5 separate regions of the Homo sapiens genome follow, and regions 2, 3, 4 and 5 are each linked to region 1. Evidence: promoter capture Hi-C in 16 types of primary human blood cells and fetal thymus (Javierre and others, 2016). All regions are on one chromosome and are shown on one strand. Each heading gives the region's core, a stretch centred on a gene start or on the middle of the fragment in contact. The rest is flanking DNA. Distances are from core to core; before and after follow the strand shown. Region 1 holds the start of SEC23IP (SEC23 interacting protein). Region 2 overlaps LINC03036 (long intergenic non-protein coding RNA 3036). Region 3 overlaps EIF3A (eukaryotic translation initiation factor 3 subunit A). Region 4 has its middle 3.2 kb from the start of DENND10. Region 5 overlaps PRDX3 (peroxiredoxin 3).

Region 1 (4,287 bases), core at 1,462-3,961:
GGGCCCTGTATTTTTAACCTCCTTGTCAAATTTGTTTCCTCTAGGATTGAGGCCATCAAGCTACAGATGGTCTTACAAATGGAACCCCAATGAGCTCAACTAACAACTTCTACTGAGGACCCCTGCACCAACCCGCTGGCCCTTTGACTGGCATAAAGAGTTCCCCTCTGGAGGACACTACAACTGCAGGGCTCCTTCTTCAACCCATCCAGCAGGAAGTAGCTACAGAGGTCATTGCCCAATTCCCAACAGCTCTTGGGGTGTCCTCTTTAGAGGGGGGATTGAGAGGTGAAGCCAGCTAGACTTCCTGGGTTGAGTAGGGACTTGGAGAACTTTTCTGTCTAGCTAGAGGATTGTAAATGCACCAATCAGTGCTCTGTGTCTAGCTGAAGGACTGTAAATGCACCAATCAGCACTCTGTAAAAACACACCAATCAGTGCTCTGTGTCTAGCTAGAAGATTGTAAATGCACCAATCAGCACTCTGTAAAAATGCACCAATCAACACTCTGTGTCTAGCTAAAGGATTGTAAATGCACCAATCAGCATTCTTTACAATGGACCAATCAGCGCTCTGTAAAATGGACCAAGCAGCAGGATGAGGGCAGTGACAAATAAATAAATAAAAGCTGGCCACCCGAGCCAGCAGCAGCAACCCAGTCAGGTCCCCTTCCACGCTACGGAAGCTTTGTTCTTTCGCTCTTCACAATAAATCTTGCTGCTGCTCACTCTGGGTCTGTGCCACCTTGAAGAGCTGTAACACTCACCACAAAGGTCCGCGGCTTCATTCTTGAAGTCAGTGAGGCCAAGAACCCACCGGAAGGAACCAACTCCGGACACATGACCACTGAGAACTGTCTTCTCAAGGACCTGGGGGTTTGTCTCTTGAATTGCAAGCCTTCAAGGAGGTGGTTCTCATTCTCATTCCCAGTCCCTGTGGCTACCTTGCTCTCTTACACCACTGCTTGTCATGAAGACAGAAAAATTATGTCTCCTCTGGATAAGCATGGATTAACACACCCAGATGGCCTAGTTGCAGGACGAACCAACCCTTCACACTCCTCAGCACCTTTCCCTTAGCACACCACAGCCTCTAAAAAGCCTCCAAATTTTTGTTTCAGCAAAGTTGTGTTCAGTTCATGCTGGACCCAATTCCCTAGCAATAGTTTTCATTAAATAAAATCTAATTTACTGCTTTAACGAGTGTCCCACTTAAAAAATTTTTCTTGACAGTAAGCACATGAAATCGTTATTGAATTAATAAACTTAGGTTCTATATATGTGTAAACAGCTGAGCAGAGTTTCATTATTTTGAGCGTTCTTTTGGTATCTCCTCTCCCAACCTCCAAGAAGCTGAAATATGGCTTAAGTTATATTTTCCTTCAAAATCTCTAACTATGAAAGATGACAATTATGTCCAAGTTATCCACAGTACCTCCTGGATTGAAGTAAGTCAGCTTACTGTGGATATAGAAAGCTATCTAAAATGTCAGATCTCTAATTTCAATGCCCTGGTTTCTTTTTTTTTCTTTTTTTTTTTTTTAAGGAGACAGGGTCTCGCTGCACAGTGAGTGGCAAGATCAGGGTTAATTTGGCCTCAAGCAATATTCCCGCCTCAGCCTCCTGAGTAGCTGGCAATATAGGTGCTATGCCACCAAGCCCGGCTAATTTTTGTATTTTTAGTAGAGACGGGGTTTCACCATGTTGGCCAGGTTGGTCTCAACCTTCTGGGCTCAAGCTATCCTCCCGCTCTGCCTCACAAAGTGCTGGGATTGCAGGCCTGCGCCATGGCGTCTGGTTTGATTTCTCTTTTAAATATTTTTTTTGGCCAGGCGTGGTGGTTCATGCCTATAATCCCAGCAGTTTGGGAGGCCAAGGCGGGCAGATCACGAGGTCAGGAGATTGAGACCATCCTGGCCAACCCGGTGAAACCTCGTCTTTACTAAAAATACAAAAAATTAGCCAGGCGTGGTGGCGGACGCCTGTAGTCCCAGCTACTCGGAGGCTGAGGCAGGAGAATCGCTTGAACCCGGGAGGCGGAGATTGCAATGAGCCCAGACTGCACCGCTGCACTCCAGCCTGGGCGACACAGCAGACTTGTCTCAAAACAAAAAACAAAACCAACCAAAAAAACAAAAAACAAATGCAAAACAAAAAACAACAAAAATAAAACGAAATATTTTTTTCTCCCTATGGATTAAACACTTAAAAAATGTTTTACCACTTCTATTTCTGGGTCAACCACAATGTTCGGTTCCATCCAGAAAGACAAGTGGGTTTTGGAGAGGGTGTTTGGTTCCGCCTAGCATGCGAATTCCCATTCCCGCACAACGCTCTTCCTCCCTTCCTCCTTCCGGTAGCGTCCAGCAGGATTCCGCTGTTCCTCCAAAATCTTTGTCAGGAGAGCCATCCTGACGGTACCTTTAGGAAGCCCATAGATACCCGCCACAACCTGTGACTTTCAGGGTCAATTGCGTCTCAATTCGCACGTCTATCCAGAACCTGCGGGGACCACGTCCCCATCCTCCCGCCCGGCCTCCGCCTCCGAGGGTGTCACGTGCTAGACGCGGGCGTGAAGACAGTGTCGCCATGTTGATATCTGGCGTCGCCGTGTAGGGGAAGGGAGAGGGCGGCTGACTAGCTACCCGTAATTTCGGCTCCTGTGCGCAAGTGCGGAAGTGCGCTGGCCAGGAGCGTGATCGGTTTCCGGTCAGTGGTGTGGTACCGGGTACCCGGAGACGTGTATCGGACGGTGGGCCGCAGCCATGGCCGAGAGAAAACCTAACGGTGGCAGCGGCGGCGCCTCCACTTCCTCATCGGGCACTAACTTACTTTTCTCCTCCTCGGCCACGGAGTTCAGCTTCAATGTGCCCTTCATCCCAGTCACCCAGGCCTCCGCTTCTCCGGCCTCCCTGCTCTTACCGGGAGGTAATAAGGGGAGGGCGGCCCCGTGTGTGGTGGGAGGCGGGCGGGGGACGTGCAATGACAAAGGTCAGACGGGAGTTTTTCCTTCTGCCTCGAGCTACCCTCTGGATAGCTTGCCAGGATCATTACTGGCCAGGTTTGAGTGGGTCGGGGGCTTTGGGATCTTGGAGGTGGCAGGTGATGAGACTTGCTCTTCACGGAAACCCCCTGTTCCGAGTTGTCCAGAGTGCTGGACATTCATTCGTACCCTGGCATTCCGCAAATCTTTGCTGAATACCCGTTGTTGGTACGCCAGGTGCTGGCAGGAAATGCAAATAAATTAAACAGTGGCCCTCTCCTAGGGTACAGTAGTCTGTCTCCCACTAGGAGACTCCTAGGATACGGTAAGATACCTCCTAGGATGGACTGTGCCCCTCTCCTAGGATACGGTACACTGTCTCCTACTAGGAGATTGTTGTGATACAGTACAATATCTTCTAGGTTACAGTAAGATATCTTATAAGATGGACTGTGCCCCTCTTCTAGAAGCCTGTAATATTTGTGAAGTAGACATATACAATGCATTCCTTATCTTTTTTTTTTTTTTTTTTTTTTTGAGACGGAGTCTTGCTCTGTCGCCCAGGCTGGAATGCAGTGGCGCGATCTCGGCTCACTGCAGCCTCCACCTTCCAGGTTCAAGTGATTCTCCTGCCTCAGCCTCCCGAGTAGCTGGGACTACAGGCGTCTGCCACCATGCCTGGCTAATTTTTGTATTTGTAGTAGAGACAGGGTTCCACCATGTTGGCCAGGATGGTCTCAATCTCCTGACCTCAAGTGATCCGCCTGCCCTGGCCTCCCAAAGTGCTGGGATTACAGGTTTAACCCCCCACCCATTCCTCATCTTTCAAGACAATACATCACTTCTTCCAAGAAGCTGTTTCTTGTTCTCTTAGGCCCCCACTCCTATGTGCACTCCTAGCTCTTTTTTCATATTTGTATTATTGTCCAGGGAGATTGCTTTTTGATGATTATGTAGCATTGCCCAGAGCATAGTGTTTAAGAGCACAGACTGTCTGTATTCCAGTCCTTGCCCTGCCAGTAACTTGCTGTGTGACTGTAGGCATTTTACTTTACCTCTCTGTGCTTCAGTTTCTATGTATGTGTAGCCTCACAGAATTGTAATTAGAAATGCTTTAATTTTTGCAAAGCGCTAAGTATAGTGCGTGCCAGACAGTGTGATTTAATGTTTGTGAAATAAACACACCTGCCTCTCCATTTGGACTGCAGTCTTCTTCAGCAGCTATGACCTAATTGCCTTTTTATCTCCAGGATCTTATTTAGGGCCTAGTACATAGATCCTCTTTGGATGCTGAGTTTCCAGTGA
Region 2 (4,287 bases), core at 605-3,104, 880 kb before region 1:
CAGCAAGGCCGTTAGGCATAAAGGGTGAGCAGATCTCAGAAGGACGCCAAACAGCATCTCCTCTCCACAAGCCAAGCCATGTTCAGTGTTTCTCCTTTCACACTGAGAATTCCCCAGTGCTTATCATCAGCACATCCTGATGGTTTTCCTGGACTCCCTCCTCCCACCACACCATGCTCGACCTCACAAAGATGCAAGGGTCCTCGCTGGGGGTCCCTGAGCTCCACTTCCCTGATAATCTCCCACCAACACCAAAAGGAAGGATGAAACTCCTCAAACCCACCCTAAGTGGTGACTAGTGTCTGCCTGGATGGAGAAGCCCAAACAAACATCACCGAAGGTGATGGATTCGAGCCTGGAGCAGCGATTCTCAGTAATTCTCAACTGCAGAGCCCAGTCAGCTGTGAAATGTCATCAGCAATATCCGTGATAATAAAGGGATGGCTGGGCGTGGTGGCTCACACCTGTAATCCCAGCACTTTGGGAGGCCGAGGCGGGCAGACCATGAGGTCAGGAGATCGAGACCATCCTGGCTAACACGGTGAAACCCCATCTCTACTAAAAATACAAAAAATTAGCCAGGCGTGATGGCGGGCGCCTGTAGTCCCAGCTACTCGGGAGGCTGAGGTAGGAGAATGGCGTGAACCCGGGAGGTGGAGCTTGCAGTGAGCCGAGATCGCACCACTGCACTCCACCTTGGGCAACAGAGCAAGACTCCGTCTCAAAAAATAATAATAATAATAATAATAATTATTATTATTATTATTATTATTATTAAGGGATTTGGCTGGGCATGATGGCTCATGCCTGTAGTCCCAGCACTTTGGGAGGTGGAGGCTGGTGGGTTGTTTGAGCCCAGCCTGGGCAATGTGGTAAAACCCCATCTCTACACAAAAACACAAAAAAATTAGCCAGGCTTGGTGGTGTGCACCTGTGGTCCCAGCTACTCAGTAGGCTGAGGTGGGAGGACTGCTTATTACTTGCTTATTAATACTGCTCATGGGTTCTGTTGAACAGACATACCACAGTGTATTTATCCATTCTGCTGATGAATATTTGAGCTATTTCCAGTTTGGGGCAATTAGGAACAATGTTAGTGTGAACACTTTTAACAACCTTATTGAGGTATAATTTATATTACTATAAAATGTACCCATTATAATTGGACTATATACAGCTTTGGCAGGGCACAGTGGCTCACATCTGTAATACCAGCACTTTGGGAGGCTGAGGCGGGTGGACTGCTTGAGCTCAGAAGTTCAAGACTAGCCTGGACAATGTGGTGAAACCCCATCTCTACAAAAAATTCAAAAATTAGTCAGGCATGGTAGTGCACCTGTAGTCCCAGTTACTTGGGAGTCTGAGGTGGAAGGATGACTTGAGCCAGGGAGGCAGAGGTTGCAGTGAGCTAAGATCACACCATTGCACTCCAGCCTGGGCAACAGAGCCAGACCCTGCCTAAAAACAGAAACAAACAAACAAAAAATTATATAGTTGTGTAGCCATCACCACCACCTAGTTTTAGAACATTCCATCACCCCCAGAAGTTTCCTCATGCCTATTTGCAGGCAGTCCTCCCTATCCACCCACCCATAGCCCAGGCAGCCGATGATATGCTTTCTGTCTCTACAGTGCTGCCTTTTCTACAAGTGTAATCAGATAATATGTAGTATTCTGTGTTTGGCTTCTTGCACGGAGCATAATGTTTTTAACCTTCAGTATCTATAGTCTGTTCCTTTTTATTTCTGAGTAGTTGATATGGTTTGACTGTGTCCCCACCCAAATCTCATCTTGAATTGTAGTTCCCGTAATTCCTAGGTGTTGTGGGAGGGACCCGGTGGGAGATAATTGAATCATAGGGGCGGTTTCCCCCACTGTTCTTGTGGTAGTGAATACATCTCGTAAGATCTGATGGTTTTGTAAGGGCTTTCCCTTTTTGCTTGGCTCTTATTCTTGCTTTGCCTGCCACCATATAAGATGTGCCTTTCCAGCAGGTGTGGTGGCTCACTCCTATAATCCCAGTACTTTGGGAGGCCGAGGCAGGCAGATCATGAGGTCAGGAGTTTGAGACCAGCCTGTCCAACATGGCAAAACCCCATCTCTACAAAAAATACAAAATTTAGCTGGGCCGGATGGCAGGTGCCTGTAATCCCAGCTACTCAGGAAGCTGAGGAAGAATTGCTCTGCCTGGGAGGCAGAGGTTGCAGTGAGCCGAGATCACACCACTGCACTCCAGCCTGGGAGACAGAGGGAGACTTTTGTCTCGAAAAAAAAAGTCGGGCATAATGACTCATGCCTGTAATCCCAGCACTTTGGGAGGCCAAGGAGGGCGGATCATCTGAGGTCGGGAGTTTGAGACCAGGCTGACCAATATGGAGAAACCCCATCTCTACTAAAAATACAAAATTAGCTGGGCATGGTGGCACATGCCTGTAATCCCAGCTACTCAAGAGGCTGAGGCAGGAGAATCGCTTGAACCCGGAAGGCGGAGGTTGCAGTAAGCCGAGATCACACCATTGCACGCCAGCCTAGGCAATAAGAGCAAAGCTCCTTCTCAAAAAAAAAAAAGTTCCAGTTTCTTCATGTCCTCACTTGGTTTTTCCAGTTTCTTTTACTACAACCACTTTAGTTTGGTAGGTAGTGTGTAAACATTCTTAATCGTGTTTCCTGGTCCTCAGGAGCATCTGTCTGGCTGACTGCTAGGCCACAAATTATTTTTGCCTTCAACTTTTCTAAATATTTCCAAGTTGTTTTCCACATCGATTATACCAATTTAATTCTCTCTAGCAATATATAAGTTCCAGTTATACCACATTCTTGTCAATGTCTGATATTGATAGAATATTTGATTTTGCCAATCTGATGGTGTAAAGTGGTATCTCATTTTAGTTATAATTTGAATTCCCGATTATAATCTAGTTTATCCTTTTAATATCCATTTACATTTCTTCTGCTATAAGTGCCTTTTCACACGTTTCACAAATTTTTCTATTTGTGTGTATATCTCATATCAATTTTTAGTTATTTTATATCTTCTGGGCACTAGGACCTTAGTCAATGACATGTATTACAAACAGCTCCTCTCACTTTTTTTTTTTTTTTTGAGAGGGAGTCTCACTCTGTCACCCAGGCTGGAGTGCAGTGGCCTGATCTCGGCTCACTGCAACCTCCAACTCCCAGGTTCAAGCGATTCTTGTGCCTCAGCCTCCCAAGCAGCTGGGACTACAGGTGTGTGCCACCACACCCAGCTAATTTTTGTATATGTAGTAGAGACAGGGTTTCACCATGTTGGCCAGGCTGGTCACTAACTCCTGGCCTCAAGTGATCCGCCCACCTTGGCCTCCCAAAGTGCTGGGATTACAGGAGTGGGCCACCACGCCTGGCCATGACTTGTCTTTTTACTTACTGTGTGGTGTCTTCTAAGAAACAGAAGTTCTTCATTTTAATTAAGTAACATTTATTAATTCTTCTCTTTATTGTTAGTGGGTTATTTTGTGTGTTTGCCTTGTTTAAGAAATACTTCCTTGCCTTGAAATCATAGGAATTGTCCCATATTGTCTTCTAAAAGCTAGAGTTTTGCCTTCACAGCTAAGTCTTTAATCTACCTGAAATTGATTCTTATCTAAAATGTGATATAGAAGTCTGATTTTTTTTTCCGTAAGGATTCTCAATTACCAAACACTGTCTATTGTAAAGTCCAGCATAGATCAAGTTCCCACCACAGAACAAGTTTCTTTATATGAGTGGGTCTGCTTCTGCACTTTTAATGCTGGTCCATAGGCAACCAATCTATGGGTGGTCAATAGCATCTGAATTATTAAAGCTTTAGAATAATTTTTATCTTTGGCATGGCAAGCCCCATCCCTTCCCTGCCCATCTAGTTCTTTTTCTTCAAGAGTGTGTTCACTTTCTTGGTCTTTGTTTTTCCATATAAACTTTAGAATTGGCTTGTCACATTTGACACACACACACATAAACACACAAAAAGTGAGGATTTTGATTTGAATTACATTCAATCTAAATAGGTGTATTTGGGAGAACTGACAACCTTATAATAGTGAGTTTTCTAACACACAAACATGGCATATCCCCAGTTTAGTTTTCTTTAATCTCTTTCAATGGAGGTTTATAATTGCCTCCATAAAGGTCTTGTACATAGTTTATTAGATTAGAATTATTTATACCTGGCCGGGCGCAGTAGCTCACACCTGTAATCCCAGCACTTCAGGATGCCGAGGTGGGTAGATCACCTGAGGTCAGGAGTTGGAGACCAGCCTGACCAACATG
Region 3 (4,287 bases), core at 695-3,194, 850 kb before region 1:
CTTTGGGAGGCTGAGGCAGGCGGATCAAGAGGTCAGGAGATCGAGACCATCCTGGCTACCATGGTGAAACCCCATCTCTACTAAAAATACAAAAAATTAGCCAGGCATAGTGGTAGGCACCTGTTGTCCCAGCTACTCAGGAGGCTGAGGCAGGAGAAGGGCATGAACCTGGGAGGCAGAACTTGCAGTGAGGGGAGATCGCGCCACTGCACTCCAGCCAGATGACAGAGCGAGACTCCGTCTCCAAAAAAAAAAAAAAAAAAAAAAATTAGCCATGCATGGTGGCATGTGCCTGTAGTCCCAGCTACTTGGGAAGCTGAGGCAGGAGAATTGCTTGAACCTGGGAGGCAGAGGTTGCAGTGAGCTGAGATCATACCACTGCACTCCAGCCTGGGAGACAGAGCAAGACTCCACCTCAAAAAGAAAAAAAATGGTAATAGACGCATGTCACAAACATGTATACAACTGCTCACGAATAATAAAGTGTGAAACAATAAGCAGGCCCAGGACTAAGAAAAAAAATGAGGCTGGGCGCAGCGCCTCACACCCGTTATCCCAGCACTTCACTTTGGGAGGGAGAGGCAGAAGGATAACTTGGGCCCAGGAGTTTGAGACCAGCCTGGGCAACATAGCGAAACCCCGTCTCTCCAAAAAATAAAATATTAGCAGGGTGTGGTGGCATGCGCCTGTAGTCCTAGCTACTCAGAAGGCTGAAGTGGGAGGCTCCCTAGGGTCCGGGAGGTCAAGGTTGCAGTGAGCCATGACTGCACCACTGCATTCCAGCCTGTGCAACAGAGCAAGACCCTGTCTCAAAAAAAGTAAAGTAAAATGAGTTCCTCCTTGCATAATCTCTCAGTTGGCAAAAATAAATATATAAAGTACATTTTGGTTTCAATTATTTATTTTTAAAAGGAGGCTGGTTCCCAGTAAAACCTGAAAAATACACCAATACTGAAAGCATGAGTACAGGAAGAGCCTTCAAAGAAGCAGTCATCGAAGCAGAAGGAAAACAAAGAGCACATCACTAAAGAAGAGAGGGGTTGGGTTATTTATGTTTTGGATGGTGGTATTCTGAAGGCAAACTTTTGACAGCGAAGTCACTGCAAATGATACTGAAGGAAAGATGAAAGACCAGTTTATCTGGAAAATAACAATACAGCCCTGATATTTATCCATCAGAATTTCACTTTTACAGGTGAACACTTAAGCATATTCTAGGAAATAGAATTTTACCTGGCTTGACTAATGGTCTCCAAGGACCAGGTCTTGAGTCATCACCCCGTCTGGGAAACCGATCATCATCAGCACGTCTTGAAAGGCGATCATCATCCATGTTTCTCCAAGGGCCCCTGTCATCCTCTGCACCACGCCTGGGAATTCTGTCATCATCGGCGTTCCTCCAAGGTCCTCGATCATCATCCAACCCTCGCCTGGGACCCCGGTCATCATCCATGCCTCGCCTGGGACCCCGGTCATCATCCATGCCTCGCCTGGGACCCCGGTCATCATCCATGCCTCGCCTGGGACCCCGATCATCATCCAACCCTCGCCTGGGACCCCGGTCATCATCAGCATTACGCCAGGATGATCGCTCATCATCAGCGCCTCCTCGCCTCGGCCCCCGGTCATCATCCATCCCACGTCTTGGTCCTCTGTCCTCATCAGCTGTTCGCCAGCTTCCTCTGTCCTCATCCAGTCCTCGTCTAGGTGGTCTGTCATCATCCGCATGACGCCAGTTTCCCCTGTCTTCATCGGCAATTCGTCTGGGAGGCCTGTCATCATCTGTGTTACGCCAGGAAGGCCGGTCATCGTCTGCCCCACGACGAGAGAACCTATCTTCCTCAGGACCACGTCTAGGGCCTCTGTCATCATCCATGCCACGCCGGGGAACCCGATCATCGTCTGGTCTAAGAGAGGGCTCTCTATCTTCATCATCCCCCAGACGCCGGGGCCGCTCTTCATCTCTTCTATGAGACCTGTCCTCATCTCGCCCTTCTCCACGTCTCCACTCCCTACACAGCAACAAGAACAATTAAAAATATATAAAATAAAAAAGCATATGATCCTTTGGGGATTTTTTTTTTCACATGCTTTTTAAAAACTTCAGTATGGGCCGGAGCAGTGGCTCGCACCTTTAATCCCAGCACTCTGGGAAGCAGAGGCAGGCAGATCACCTGAGGTCAGGAGTTCAAGACCAGCCTGGCCTGGCAAAACCCATCTCTACTTAATTGTAAGACATGCGGCTGGGCACAGTCGCTCACACCTGTAATCCCAGCACTTTGGAAGGCCAAGGCGGGAGGATTGCTTGAGCCCAGGAGTTTGAGACTAGCCTGGGCAACATGTCAAAACCCCATCACTATAAAGAATATAAAAATTCACCAGGCGTAGTGGCCCACACCTGTAATCCCAGCACTTTGGGAGGCCGAGGCAGGCAGATTTCTTGAGGTCAGGAGTTCAAGACCAGCCTGGCCAACATAGTGAAACCTCGGGTCTACTAAAAATGCAAAAATTAGCCAGGCGTGGTGGTGCATGTCTGTAATCCTACTTGGGAGGATTACAAGTGCCTCCCAGCTACTTGGGAGGCACAAGAATTGCTTCAACCCAGGAGGCGGAGGCTGCAGTGAGCCGAGAACGCGCCACTGCACTCCAGCCTGGGTGACAGAGCTAGATTCTGTCTCAAAAACAAAGAAACAAACAAACAAAATTAACCAGGCATGGTGGAGCGCACCTGTGGTCCCAGCTACTCAGGAGGCTGAGGCAGGAGGATCACCTAAGCCCAGGGAGGTTGAGGCTGTAGTGAGCCGAGATCGCGCCACTGCACTCCAGAGTGAGACGCCATCTCAAAACAACAACAACAACAACAAAAACAACAACACAGGCCAAGTGCAGTGGCTCATGCCTGTCATCCCAGCAATTTGAGAGGCTGAGACAGTCAGATCGCTTGAGGTCAAGAGGTCAAAGCCAGCTTGGGCAACATGGCAAAACCCCATCTCTACTAAAAATACAAAAAGTAGCCAGGTGTGGTGGCACACACCTGTAATCCCAGCTATTCGAGAGGCTGAGGCACTTGAACCCAGGAGGCAGAGGTTGCAGGGAGCCGAGATAGCGCCACTGCACCCCAGCCTGGGCAGCAGACCCAAAAAAACAAAATACAAACCCACACGCAATCAGACATGCACACAATTCTTCATGGCTCTCCTTTCCCTGCCTCTACAAAATGAACCAAATTTTAAAACCACTGATAAGATATTAACAGGAACTGGAGCGGCATTATTTTCCTCAACTCTACTTACTTCTCTGGCGGGCCTCTTCTCCACTCAGAATCTGCTTCAGGTCCTTTTCTCCAGGTGCCTTCTGAATCTCTATCTCCCCAACGAGAGTCCTCCATTGACAAAGTGAAAAAGAAGCATTACATTGGTAACCATTTACTATTACAACTACTGGTATTACCATTCAAATATTTTTTGTACTTATAACAATATGAAGCCCTTAAATAAGCAAGTTTTAAAATTTCATTTATTTTTTAATCTGAGATCAGACTGACGCTACAGGGAAACTGGTAGTCTCATATATTGTAGGTGGCCTTACAAACCGATATAACACTGTGCTGGAAAGCAACCTGGGAACATACACCTCTACAGATTTCCTTCAACCTAGAAATCCCCTTTGAAGAATGTGAAAAAAGCCACATGCCCTGAAATGGACATCACAGTGCCTACGAAGCAAAGAAAGGTGGAGACATTTTATTTAATGTCTAATGGGGGTGGTTAAATTAACAGTACTTCTCTATTCAAAGTACTCTGATGGGCCGGGCGCGGTGGCTCACGCCTGTAATCCCAGCAGTTTGGAAGGCCGAGGCAGGTGGATCACGAGGTCAGGAGATCAAGACCATCCTGGCTAACACGGTGAAACCCTGTCTCTACTAAAAATACAAAAAATTAGCCAGGCGTGGTGGCAGGCGCCTGTAGTCCCAGCTACTTGGGAGGCTGAGGCAGGAGAATCGCTTGAACCCAGAAGGCAAAACTTGCAGTTACCCAACATCACACTACTGCACTCCAGCCTGCACCAGAGCGCAAGCCTCTGTCTCAAAAAAATAAAAATAAAAGAATCTACAAAGCTAAGAATAAGCTACAGTCTCAAACAATGCGTGAATAAGAGAACCTTTATTTGAATTTTCTTTTCTTTTTTTTTTTTTTTTTTTTGAGGTGGAATCTCACTCTGTTACCCAGGATGGAGTGCAGTGGTACGATCTCAGCTAACTGCAGCCTCTGCCACCCACATTCAAGC
Region 4 (4,287 bases), core at 981-3,480, 790 kb before region 1:
AGGCTGGAGTGCAGTGGCTCAATTGTAGCTCATGGCAACCAGTGACTCTTGGACTCAAGTGATCCTCCCACCTCAGCCTCCTGAGTAGATAGGTTCAGGTGTGTATCTCCAAGCCCACCTAATTTTTAAATTTTTGTTCTAGAGACAGGGTCTTGCTATGTTGCCCAGGCTGCTCTTGAACTCCTGGGCTCGATGCTTTTGCCTCAGCTTCCCAAAATGCTGGGACTACAGGAATGAGCCTCGGTGCCCAGTCCATGAACTATTTCTTTTAATGCAACATAGTAGCCAGGTGTGATGGCTCACACCTGTAAGCCCAGCACTTTGGGAGGCTGAGGTGGGAGGATGTCTTAAGGCCAGGAGTTCAAAACCAGCCTGGGCAACATAGTGAGACTCCCATCTCTACAAAAATAAAATAAAAATAAAAATAAAAATTAGCCGGGCATCGTGGCTCATGCCTATAGTCCCAGCTACTCTGGAGGCTGATGCAGGAGGATTGCCTGAGCCTAGGAGTTCAAGGCCATACTGGGCAACATAAGGAGACCCCATCTCTACAAAAAGTTTTAAAAAATTGCTGGGCATGGTGGCACAAACCTATGGTCCCAGCTACTCGGGAGGCTGAGGTGGGAGAATTGCTTGAGCCTGGAAGGTCAAGTCTGCAGCAAGCTGTGATTGAACGACTGCACCCCAGCTTGGGTGACAGAGCAAGACCCTGTCTCAATAGATAAATGAATAAATAAATAGAAAGAAAGAAAGAAAAAAGAATAATGCAACACAGCTCGAAACCTGGGCTTCTTAGGGCCGGAGAGCTACCCAGCATCCTGAAACCATTGAGAACACAAGGAGGATGACTTCATCTTGGGAATGTTCTGGAAGCCTCACATATGCTAGAAGTCAGGACGGAGTGTCAGAGCAGTTGACTGAATCGCCTTCCAGTTCCCAAGTGAGACTGAATCCCTTAAATTAAAAGAGCTTGGCCAGGCGTGGTGGATCACACCTGTAATCCCAGCACTTTGGGAGGCCAAGGCGGATGGATCACTTGAGGCCAAGAGTTTCAGACTAGCCTGGCCAACATGGTGAAACCCCATCTCTACTAAAAATAAAAAAAAATTAACCAGGCTTGGTGGCACACACCTGTAGTCCCAGCTACTTGGGAGGCTGAGGCAGGAGAATTGCTTGAGCCTGGGAGGCGGAGGTTGCAGTTAGTGGAGATCACACCACTGCACTCCAGCCTGGGTGACAGAGCAAGACTCCGTCTCAGAAAAAAAAAAAGGCTGGGCACAGTAGCTCACACCTGTAATCCCAGCACTTTGGGAGGCTGAGGTGGGTGGATCACCTGAGGTCAGGAGTTCGAGACCAGTCTGACCAATATGGTGAAACCCTGTCTCTACTAAAAATACAAAAATTAGCCGGGTGTGGTGGCCTGCGCCTGTAGTCCCAGCTACTCAGGAGGCTGAGACAGGAGAATTGCTTGAACCCAGGAGGCGGAAGTTGCAGTGAGCTGAGATTGCATCACTGCATTGCGACAGAGCAAGACTCCATCAAAACAAACAAACAAACAAAACAACAACAACAAAAAAAAACTGCCACCCTAATGGCTCCCTTGGCTGACACATGCCCAATCTATGATGGAATCCAATTACAGAAACAAAGATGAAAAAGAACCATATTTGACTCATAGGAACCTGGGATTGGAACACCTGGAAGATGCTGGGGTCCCTTGTGCACTTGTCCATGTGGCCAGACAGTTTAGGCACTTTCCAAATCTGCTTCAGTGCCAGTAACTTACTCTTTTTCTGCAGAGCAAGGAGTGAGCAGGCTGTGCAAAAAAGAATTCACACGACAGGCCTGAGGGTGATATCCATAGAAAGTCTGCTGGCCAGTTTGGCCCTTGGCTGTGCCTGGAAACTTGGACTTCGGCAGTGTTCCCAGCATTTCTAGAACTGATCAAACTGATCAGAGTGACAGACTATGCCTGAACTATTTGTACATACAATGTGGTTCATGAGAGTCTGGAAATCTGGTATGAGCTAGGCAGAGGGTACCTATGTGACTGGCCCCCAGTAAAAACTGAGTTACTTGGTGACTGAGTTCTAACAAGCTTCCCTGGTTGATAAATATCACAAGTATTGCCACAACTTGTTGCTGGAGGAATTAGGTGTGTCCTGTGTGACTCTACCAGGAAATAACTCTTGGGAACTTGGCCCTGGTTTCCTCCAGACATCACCCCATGTGCCTTTTCCCTTTGCTGATTTTGCTTTGTATTCTCTGGCTGTAATAAATCATAGCCCTGAGCTGGGGATGGTGGTTCACATGTGTAACCCCAGCACTTTGGAGCCTGAGGTGGGCAGATCGCTTGAGGTCAGAAGCTTGAGATCAGCCTACACAATATGGTGAGATCACATCTCAAAAAAAAAAAAAAAAAAATAGCTAGGCATGGTGGTGCCTGCCTGTAGTCCCAGCTACTCAGGAGGATGAGGTGGGAGGATAGCTTGAGCCTGGATCAAAGCTGCAGTGAGCCGTGATCGTGCCACTGCACTCCAGCCTGGGTGACAGAGTGAGACCCTGTCTCAAAAAAATAAAAATGTATATCATAGCCATGAGTATAGCTATATGCTGAATCCTGAGAATCCTTCCAACAAATCATTGAATTTGGGGGGTGGTCTTGGGGACCCTTTATATTCTTACCTATAAAATTAGGCTATTCTTATCAATAAAACTAGCATAAAGATTTTCCCTGATTCAAATCTTTATTGGGAGAGTCACGGAGGAAAGTATGGTTAGCTCCATTTGATCACTGAGAAAACATGCACAGAAAAGATAGGAAACATGTGTGAGGTTTCGCAGCTAAGATGGGCAAGGGGGTTGGAACTCAGGTTGTCTGTTTCCACACCCCAGCTCCATCTGTCTGTGACAGCGCAGAGGTCAGTCTTACTTTTAAAGATTGGGGATGCGTCGCCTCTGCTCTCTCCACCCTCTATTCCTTTTCCCTTCACTCTGGTGTACCTGTCTGGCAGGTAAGACAGCACTTGTGGAGAAACAGGAGGGAAGGAGGTGTCAATTCCAGGTATCATCCCACTCACTGGAGCCTGGACACACCCCTCATTATCTTTCCCCTCCCTGCACCCACTATCATCTCCCTCTCCTTTGTTTAATTATCTGTTCATCATCGTCTTCATCCTCATTTCTTTTCTTTTTTTTTCTGAGATGGAGTCTCACTCTGTCGCCCAGGCTGGAATGCAGTGGCGCGATCTTGGCTCACTGCAACCGTCCTCTCTTGGGTTCAAGCCAGTCTGCCTCAGCTTCCTGAGTAGCTGGGATTACAGGCACCTGCCACCATGCCTAGCTAATTTTTGTGATTTTTTGTTTGTTTGTTTTTGAGATGGAGTCTCGCTCTGTCGCCCAGGCTGGAGTGCAGTGGCGTGATCTCGGCTCACTGCAAGCTCCGCCTCCCGGGTTCACGCCATTCTCCTGCCTCAGCCTCACAAGTAGCTGGGACTACAGGCACCTGCCACCACGCCCGGCTAATTTTTTGTATTTTTAGTAGAGACAGGGTTTCACCGTTTTAGCCGGGTTGGTCTCAATCTCCTGACCTCGTGATCCACCCACCTCAGCCTCCCAAAGTGCTAGGATTACAGGCGTGAGCCACCGTGCCCCACCTAGTGCAAGTTTCTAGTTGGCTTCCAAACTGATTCCACATCTGTGTCCCACTCCTCAGCCTCTAAACACCTGCTTCTTTTCTGTGAAAACTAGACACATTAACAGTTATACTACAACAGGAAGCCCAGAGAATAGAAGGGCACGTAGTTCAGGGTGCTGCCTTCCAGGGGTTCAGTTTAGTGAGAGAAACAGGAATGCCATATACACACCTAAATATACTCCAATGTATAAATTGCAGCCTGGGCAACATAGCGAGAAACTGTCTCCAAAAAAAAAAGAAAGAAAAAAGAAAAAAACAGGCGCAGTGGCTCACGCCTGTAATCCCAGCTACGCAGGAGGCTGAGGCAGGAGAATCCCTTAAAACCGAGAGGCGGAGGTTGCAGTGAGCCGAGATCGCGCTATTGCACTCCAGGCCGGGCAACTGAACAAGACTCCATCTCAAAAAAAAAAAAAAAAAAAGAAAAAAGAAAAAAAGATGAGGGTGGGATTGTATTCCTGCAGACACCAAGGACCCTCCCTAATTAGCTCTGTGTGACTTGGGGTTGGGGCAGACAGTAGATCCAGAGGAGGAATCTTGGAGCCAAATCTTCCAATGTCTGAGTCGTTACTATCATTCAGATCTCAGTTCAA
Region 5 (4,287 bases), core at 956-3,455, 720 kb before region 1:
CTTATTCATGTTACTGAGAATTTCAAGAGAGTAACACCAGAGCATCAAACCAAGTATAGGGCCCTGGGCACAGTGCACTATCCCTCAGCCCAACAGGTTGTTTTTTTTTTTCTTCCAGTGTTGGGGCAAATCCAGTTCCTTTTGTTGACTACCAAATAGGTACCATTTGTAAAGAAAAACCTGCCTTCCCTTCCTCCTCCCACCTGCCCTTCCCCAGCACAGGGCCAGGCGGGGGCTGTGTGCACTTAAATTCACGGAAGCCACAAGTGTGCCTAGGTCGTTCAGGGGGCCTCCGGAGTCCAGGACTGGGGGACCCAGCACATCATCTAGTTGTGTGACCCTCGCCAAGTCAGTATCTCGAAGTCTATTTTCCCATCCGCAAAATGAGGATAACAATTGTACCTATCTCAGGGTTTTGTTTCTGATCAAAGGAGATAAAACATCCCTAACACAGCACTGAGCCCTCAGAAGTGCTCAGTATTGGCCATTAACCTCCAGCGGGCCAATTCCTTCCCTTGCCCTGCGCCTCCAGGAACAGGAAATTGGCTCATGGCGTCCTTCAGGCCTGTATGACTCTGCTTCTGTATTTGCTCAGTTTGCCTAGCTCACTTTTCTTAACCTCCAGGGGTTTATCTCCTCTTCCAGGAAGCCTTCCCTGACCCTCCGAGTTGAGTAAGGTGCCCCCTCCACTTCTACCCTTATGCCGCAGAAATCCATCTAAGCACCAGTGCAGTATGTAGCGTGCTGTTCTATTCTGTTGTCTCTACCCTCCAGGATGTCACAAAGCCAGCCCGCTGGCCTGCTTCCCCACTTTGGACTGCTATGTCGTCTTAACAAAGGAGCCAGAGTGATTCTCTTAGAACAAGTTGATGTCACTCTTCTTTTCAAATCCTTCCTGACATTCCCCACCCCAGAACAGAACCTAAAGTCCTTGGCCTGGCCAAAAGGCACTCTGGGACCCCCACCACAGCCATAGTCACCGGCCTCCTAGTAAATCTGCATCCGCTCTGAGCCCACTCTTGCCTCACGGCCTTTGTGTTTTCCCTGCCCTCTGCCTAGAAGTCTCTTATCCCCGTAATACTCTCACTTTCTACGCGTTTTCTCTCCCTCGATGCTCATCAAAACCCTGAGATAAGTACAATTATTGTCCTCATTTTACAATGAGAAAATTGATCCAGAGAGGCTCTCCCTTAAGGCCTTCCTTGACAACCCCATCTAGAACACCTACAACTCCGCTTCAGCAGTTTCACTCCACATTATTTTCCTTCCAAACACTCTACTTTTACTACATGTATGAGGTGTTTCCCCTCTAGAATGTAAGAGCTTAAAAGCAGGGGTTTGTCCGTTGTTCGCTCTTGTGCCTGGAAAACAGCACCTGGTGCGGGGTAGGCACTCAAGGATTTACTGAAACAACGAGAAAATGTTTCCCTATCTGTCTTGCCCCTAAACCGAGTTCCTTGAGTGCGGAACCAGCATCTTATTCTCTTTGTGGCCCCTGAGGTAAATGCTCAATAAATGTTTGTTGATAATCTGAGAAGGAAAGGAGAGCCCAAAATAAGCTGATCCAACAGTTACTGGTGGTAAAATGCAAATGTTTTAAAATATGTTTATTTTGTATGTTTTACAATGAATACTTCAGCAAAGAAAATAATTATAATTTCAAAATGCAATCCCTGGATTTGATAAATATCCTTTATAATCGATTACACTAATCAATATCTAGAAATATACATAGACAAAGTTAGCTAATGAATAAAATAAGTAAAATGACTACATAAACTCAATTTCAGGGATGAGGGATCATGCATGATCAGTTAAGTCACTCTGCCACTTTTTAAAATAATACGATTCACATTTGCTTCAATCACATAAACATTCATTGCAGGAGTTACACGGCTAATCATTGAAAATTATGATCTTTGTTAGCTTAAAAGAAAATTCAGTTTAATACAAAGACATTCAAGATGAAAATTTCAGGACCGTTGATCAGAAGCTTTCAATGTGTGTTGCTCTACTTTATTATAGGCAAGATTCAAGTAAGGCTAAGAAAGAAGAGTGTTTCCATTGAGACATGATCTAAGAATAGCCTTCTATAGAGGCAAATTATGTTCTGTAGAAACTAGCTAGCCAGCCACCAAGATGTTACCAATAAAGGATTCCTTGTACTAGCAACTAACCATGTTTAAAAGGTCTTAGCCAGAATTACAAAAACAAAACATTTAGAGTAATACTTATGAATACAAGCATAATTGGTTCCTTGCCTTCTACAAATAACCATCTTGAAAATGATAAAAGCAGGTTTCAACTGTGGTTCTTCTCTCAGTTGAGAAGGTGCAGATACACATGGGTGATCTACTGATTTACCTTCTGAAAGTACTCTTTGGAAGCAGCTGGACTTGGCTTGATCTGAAAATACAAAAGCTTAATTAGGTAACTGTGACTTTACCATAATAATAGTCCCAAAAGTGAGTGGCAATCTCCCAATTTTTAACCTAAAGTTCTTTAAACTTTTAAAGATTTCCTTTAAAACATAAAGATGAAAGTTTCATTAAGGCCTGCCTGTCTCTAGGCCGGGCACGGTGGCTCACGCCGGTAATCCCAGCACTTTGGGAGGCCAAGGCGGGTGGATCACGAGGTCAGGAGATCCAGACCATCCTGGCTAACACGGTGAAACCCCGTCTCTACTAAAATTCAAAAAATTAGCCGTGGTGGTGGGCGCCCTGTAGTCCCAGCTACTCAGGAGGCTGAGGCAGGACAATGGCGTGAACCCAGGAGGCGGAGCTTGCAGTGAGCTGAGAGAGCGCCACTGCACTCCAGCCTGGGCGAGAGCAAGACTCCGTCTCAAAAAAAAAAAAAAAGGCCTGCCTGTCTCTGATAATTGGTTCCTGGCTCCCCACCCCACCCCCTCTACCCCACAGCAGCTTCACCCATTTGCATATCATCTGCACGCTTGCTTCAAGAGTGGGCTCCCTTTTGTGGATATTTCAGGTCAATAGCTCTCGAGGCTGAGAGAACATGGACCTCACTGCTTTTGGGGAAAAAAACCTACCGTAGGAGAATCCGGTGTCCAGTTCGCTGGGCAGACTTCTCCATGTGTTTCTACATACTGGAACGCCTTCACCAAGCGGAGGGTTTCTTCCACGCTTCGGCCCACTGGGAGATCGTTGACGCTCAAATGCTTGATGACTCCATTGGGGTCAATTATGAAGAGACCTCTGCATGATCATTTATCCTCATCAGTGCCTCAACAGTACCAGAACTAGAACAGTCTAACTTCTTCCCTTTTAGGTCTTTAATTCTCCTTTTAATAAAATATTTATTAAGCGTAATCATATGCTTAAAGGTGGGGTTTTCACTGTTGTGCAAAAAACTTATCATCTCTTACTGATGACAGATGCTTTAACAAAGGCAGTACTGGACCAGGTCACCATAAAACATGCAGTATGGTCACACTTACAAGTTCACATAGTGCCCTGAATGTTACACAGTATCGGAAAGTCACTGAACTAGAGAGAGCAAAGACTATTAGTGACTTGGCAAGCATTCTTTGAGCTGCTGTATCACATCTTGGCAAGAAACTTATAGGCAAATGGGAAGAGACAGAGGTGTATTTTATCTAGGTTCAACAACTGTTTATTATGAATGAATTATTGGGTAAATGGGGGGAAATCCCACGGGAAAAATCTTCATAGAAAGAATGTACAGGCTCTAAGTCTATGCAAAACAGAAAACCATGCCCATCACTTTTAATCATGTAGCAGCATGTAATGAGATGAACCACGCTACCACAGTGGTCTGTGTTTATCTTCTGTGTTGGTGTTACTGTGACAGATGCAGATATGTTTAGCCTAGAAGTTTTTTTGGTTGTTTGGTTTAAATATAGGGTCTCACTGTATTGCCCACGCTGGAGTGCAGTGCTCTTCTCAGGTGTGATCACAGCAGGCTGCAGCCTCGAACTTCTGGCTCAACTGATCCTCCCACCTCAGACTCCCAAGTAGCGTGACTATAGGTGTGTGTCACTGTGTCCGGTTATTTAACCTACAGGTTTTAACAGTCTGTCTTAAAAGGATGTGGAAATTTCAGGTATCAATCACTCATGGAAAAGGCAGGTTAGAGAAAACTCAGGATAAAAGATGCTTCTCCCTCCCTGGGTCAGGCACTGGGAGCCTGGGGTTTGAGGTGAAACTGTTCCCAGAGGGTGCAGCCAGCTGAAGTCCACCAATAGAAGGTGAGGCAGAGCTGGGACAGAGCAGGGCCCATAGACTCCCAAAAGTCTTTATCTTATAA

What was found. Contacts are between HindIII fragments. The CHiCAGO score rates a contact against its expected background, and 5 or more counts as called.
Region 2: a fragment that was not itself captured here is called in contact with the fragment with the promoter of SEC23IP in region 1 in 1 of 17 cell types (activated CD4 T cells); the score reaches 5.4 in activated CD4 T cells.
Region 3: a contact is called between a fragment that was not itself captured here and the fragment with the promoter of SEC23IP in region 1, in 7 of 17 cell types (naive CD4 T cells, activated CD4 T cells, fetal thymus and 4 more). The highest score is 8.1, in naive CD4 T cells.
Region 4: a fragment that was not itself captured here is called in contact with the fragment with the promoter of SEC23IP in region 1 in 3 of 17 cell types (naive B cells, naive CD8 T cells and total CD8 T cells); the score reaches 5.9 in naive B cells.
Region 5: a fragment that was not itself captured here is called in contact with the fragment with the promoter of SEC23IP in region 1 in 1 of 17 cell types (non-activated CD4 T cells); the score reaches 6.6 in non-activated CD4 T cells.

Annotation. Positions count from the first base shown.
Region 1 is chr10:119,890,019-119,894,305 of GRCh38, forward strand. SEC23IP (SEC23 interacting protein) reads left to right here and starts at 2,712. Exons shown (of 19, transcript NM_007190.4): 1 at 2,712-2,927. The coding sequence starts at 2,765. RefSeq lists enhancers at 1,427-1,938, 1,939-2,449, 2,450-2,960. The HindIII fragment of the contact is 6,362 bases long and covers 684-4,287 here.
Region 2 is chr10:119,011,191-119,015,477 of GRCh38, forward strand. All of the region lies in intron 2 of LINC03036 (long intergenic non-protein coding RNA 3036), which reads right to left. Among named protein-coding and RNA genes, the nearest start is that of LINC03036, 16 kb to the right of the region's middle. The HindIII fragment of the contact is 3,933 bases long and covers 1-3,821 here.
Region 3 is chr10:119,040,761-119,045,047 of GRCh38, forward strand. It overlaps EIF3A (eukaryotic translation initiation factor 3 subunit A), which reads right to left. Exons shown (of 22, transcript NM_003750.4): 18 at 3,294-3,382; 19 at 1,234-2,012. Among named protein-coding and RNA genes, the nearest start is that of NANOS1, 13 kb to the left of the region's middle. The HindIII fragment of the contact is 5,604 bases long and covers 1-4,287 here.
Region 4 is chr10:119,098,728-119,103,014 of GRCh38, forward strand. No RefSeq gene overlaps it. Among named protein-coding and RNA genes, the nearest start is that of DENND10, 3.2 kb to the right of the region's middle. The HindIII fragment of the contact is 268 bases long and covers 2,097-2,364 here.
Region 5 is chr10:119,166,128-119,170,414 of GRCh38, forward strand. It overlaps PRDX3 (peroxiredoxin 3), which reads right to left. Exons shown (of 7, transcript NM_006793.5): 6 at 3,050-3,215; 7 at 1,593-2,406. The coding sequence ends at 2,353. Among named protein-coding and RNA genes, the nearest start is that of SFXN4, 2.6 kb to the left of the region's middle. The HindIII fragment of the contact is 428 bases long and covers 1,992-2,419 here.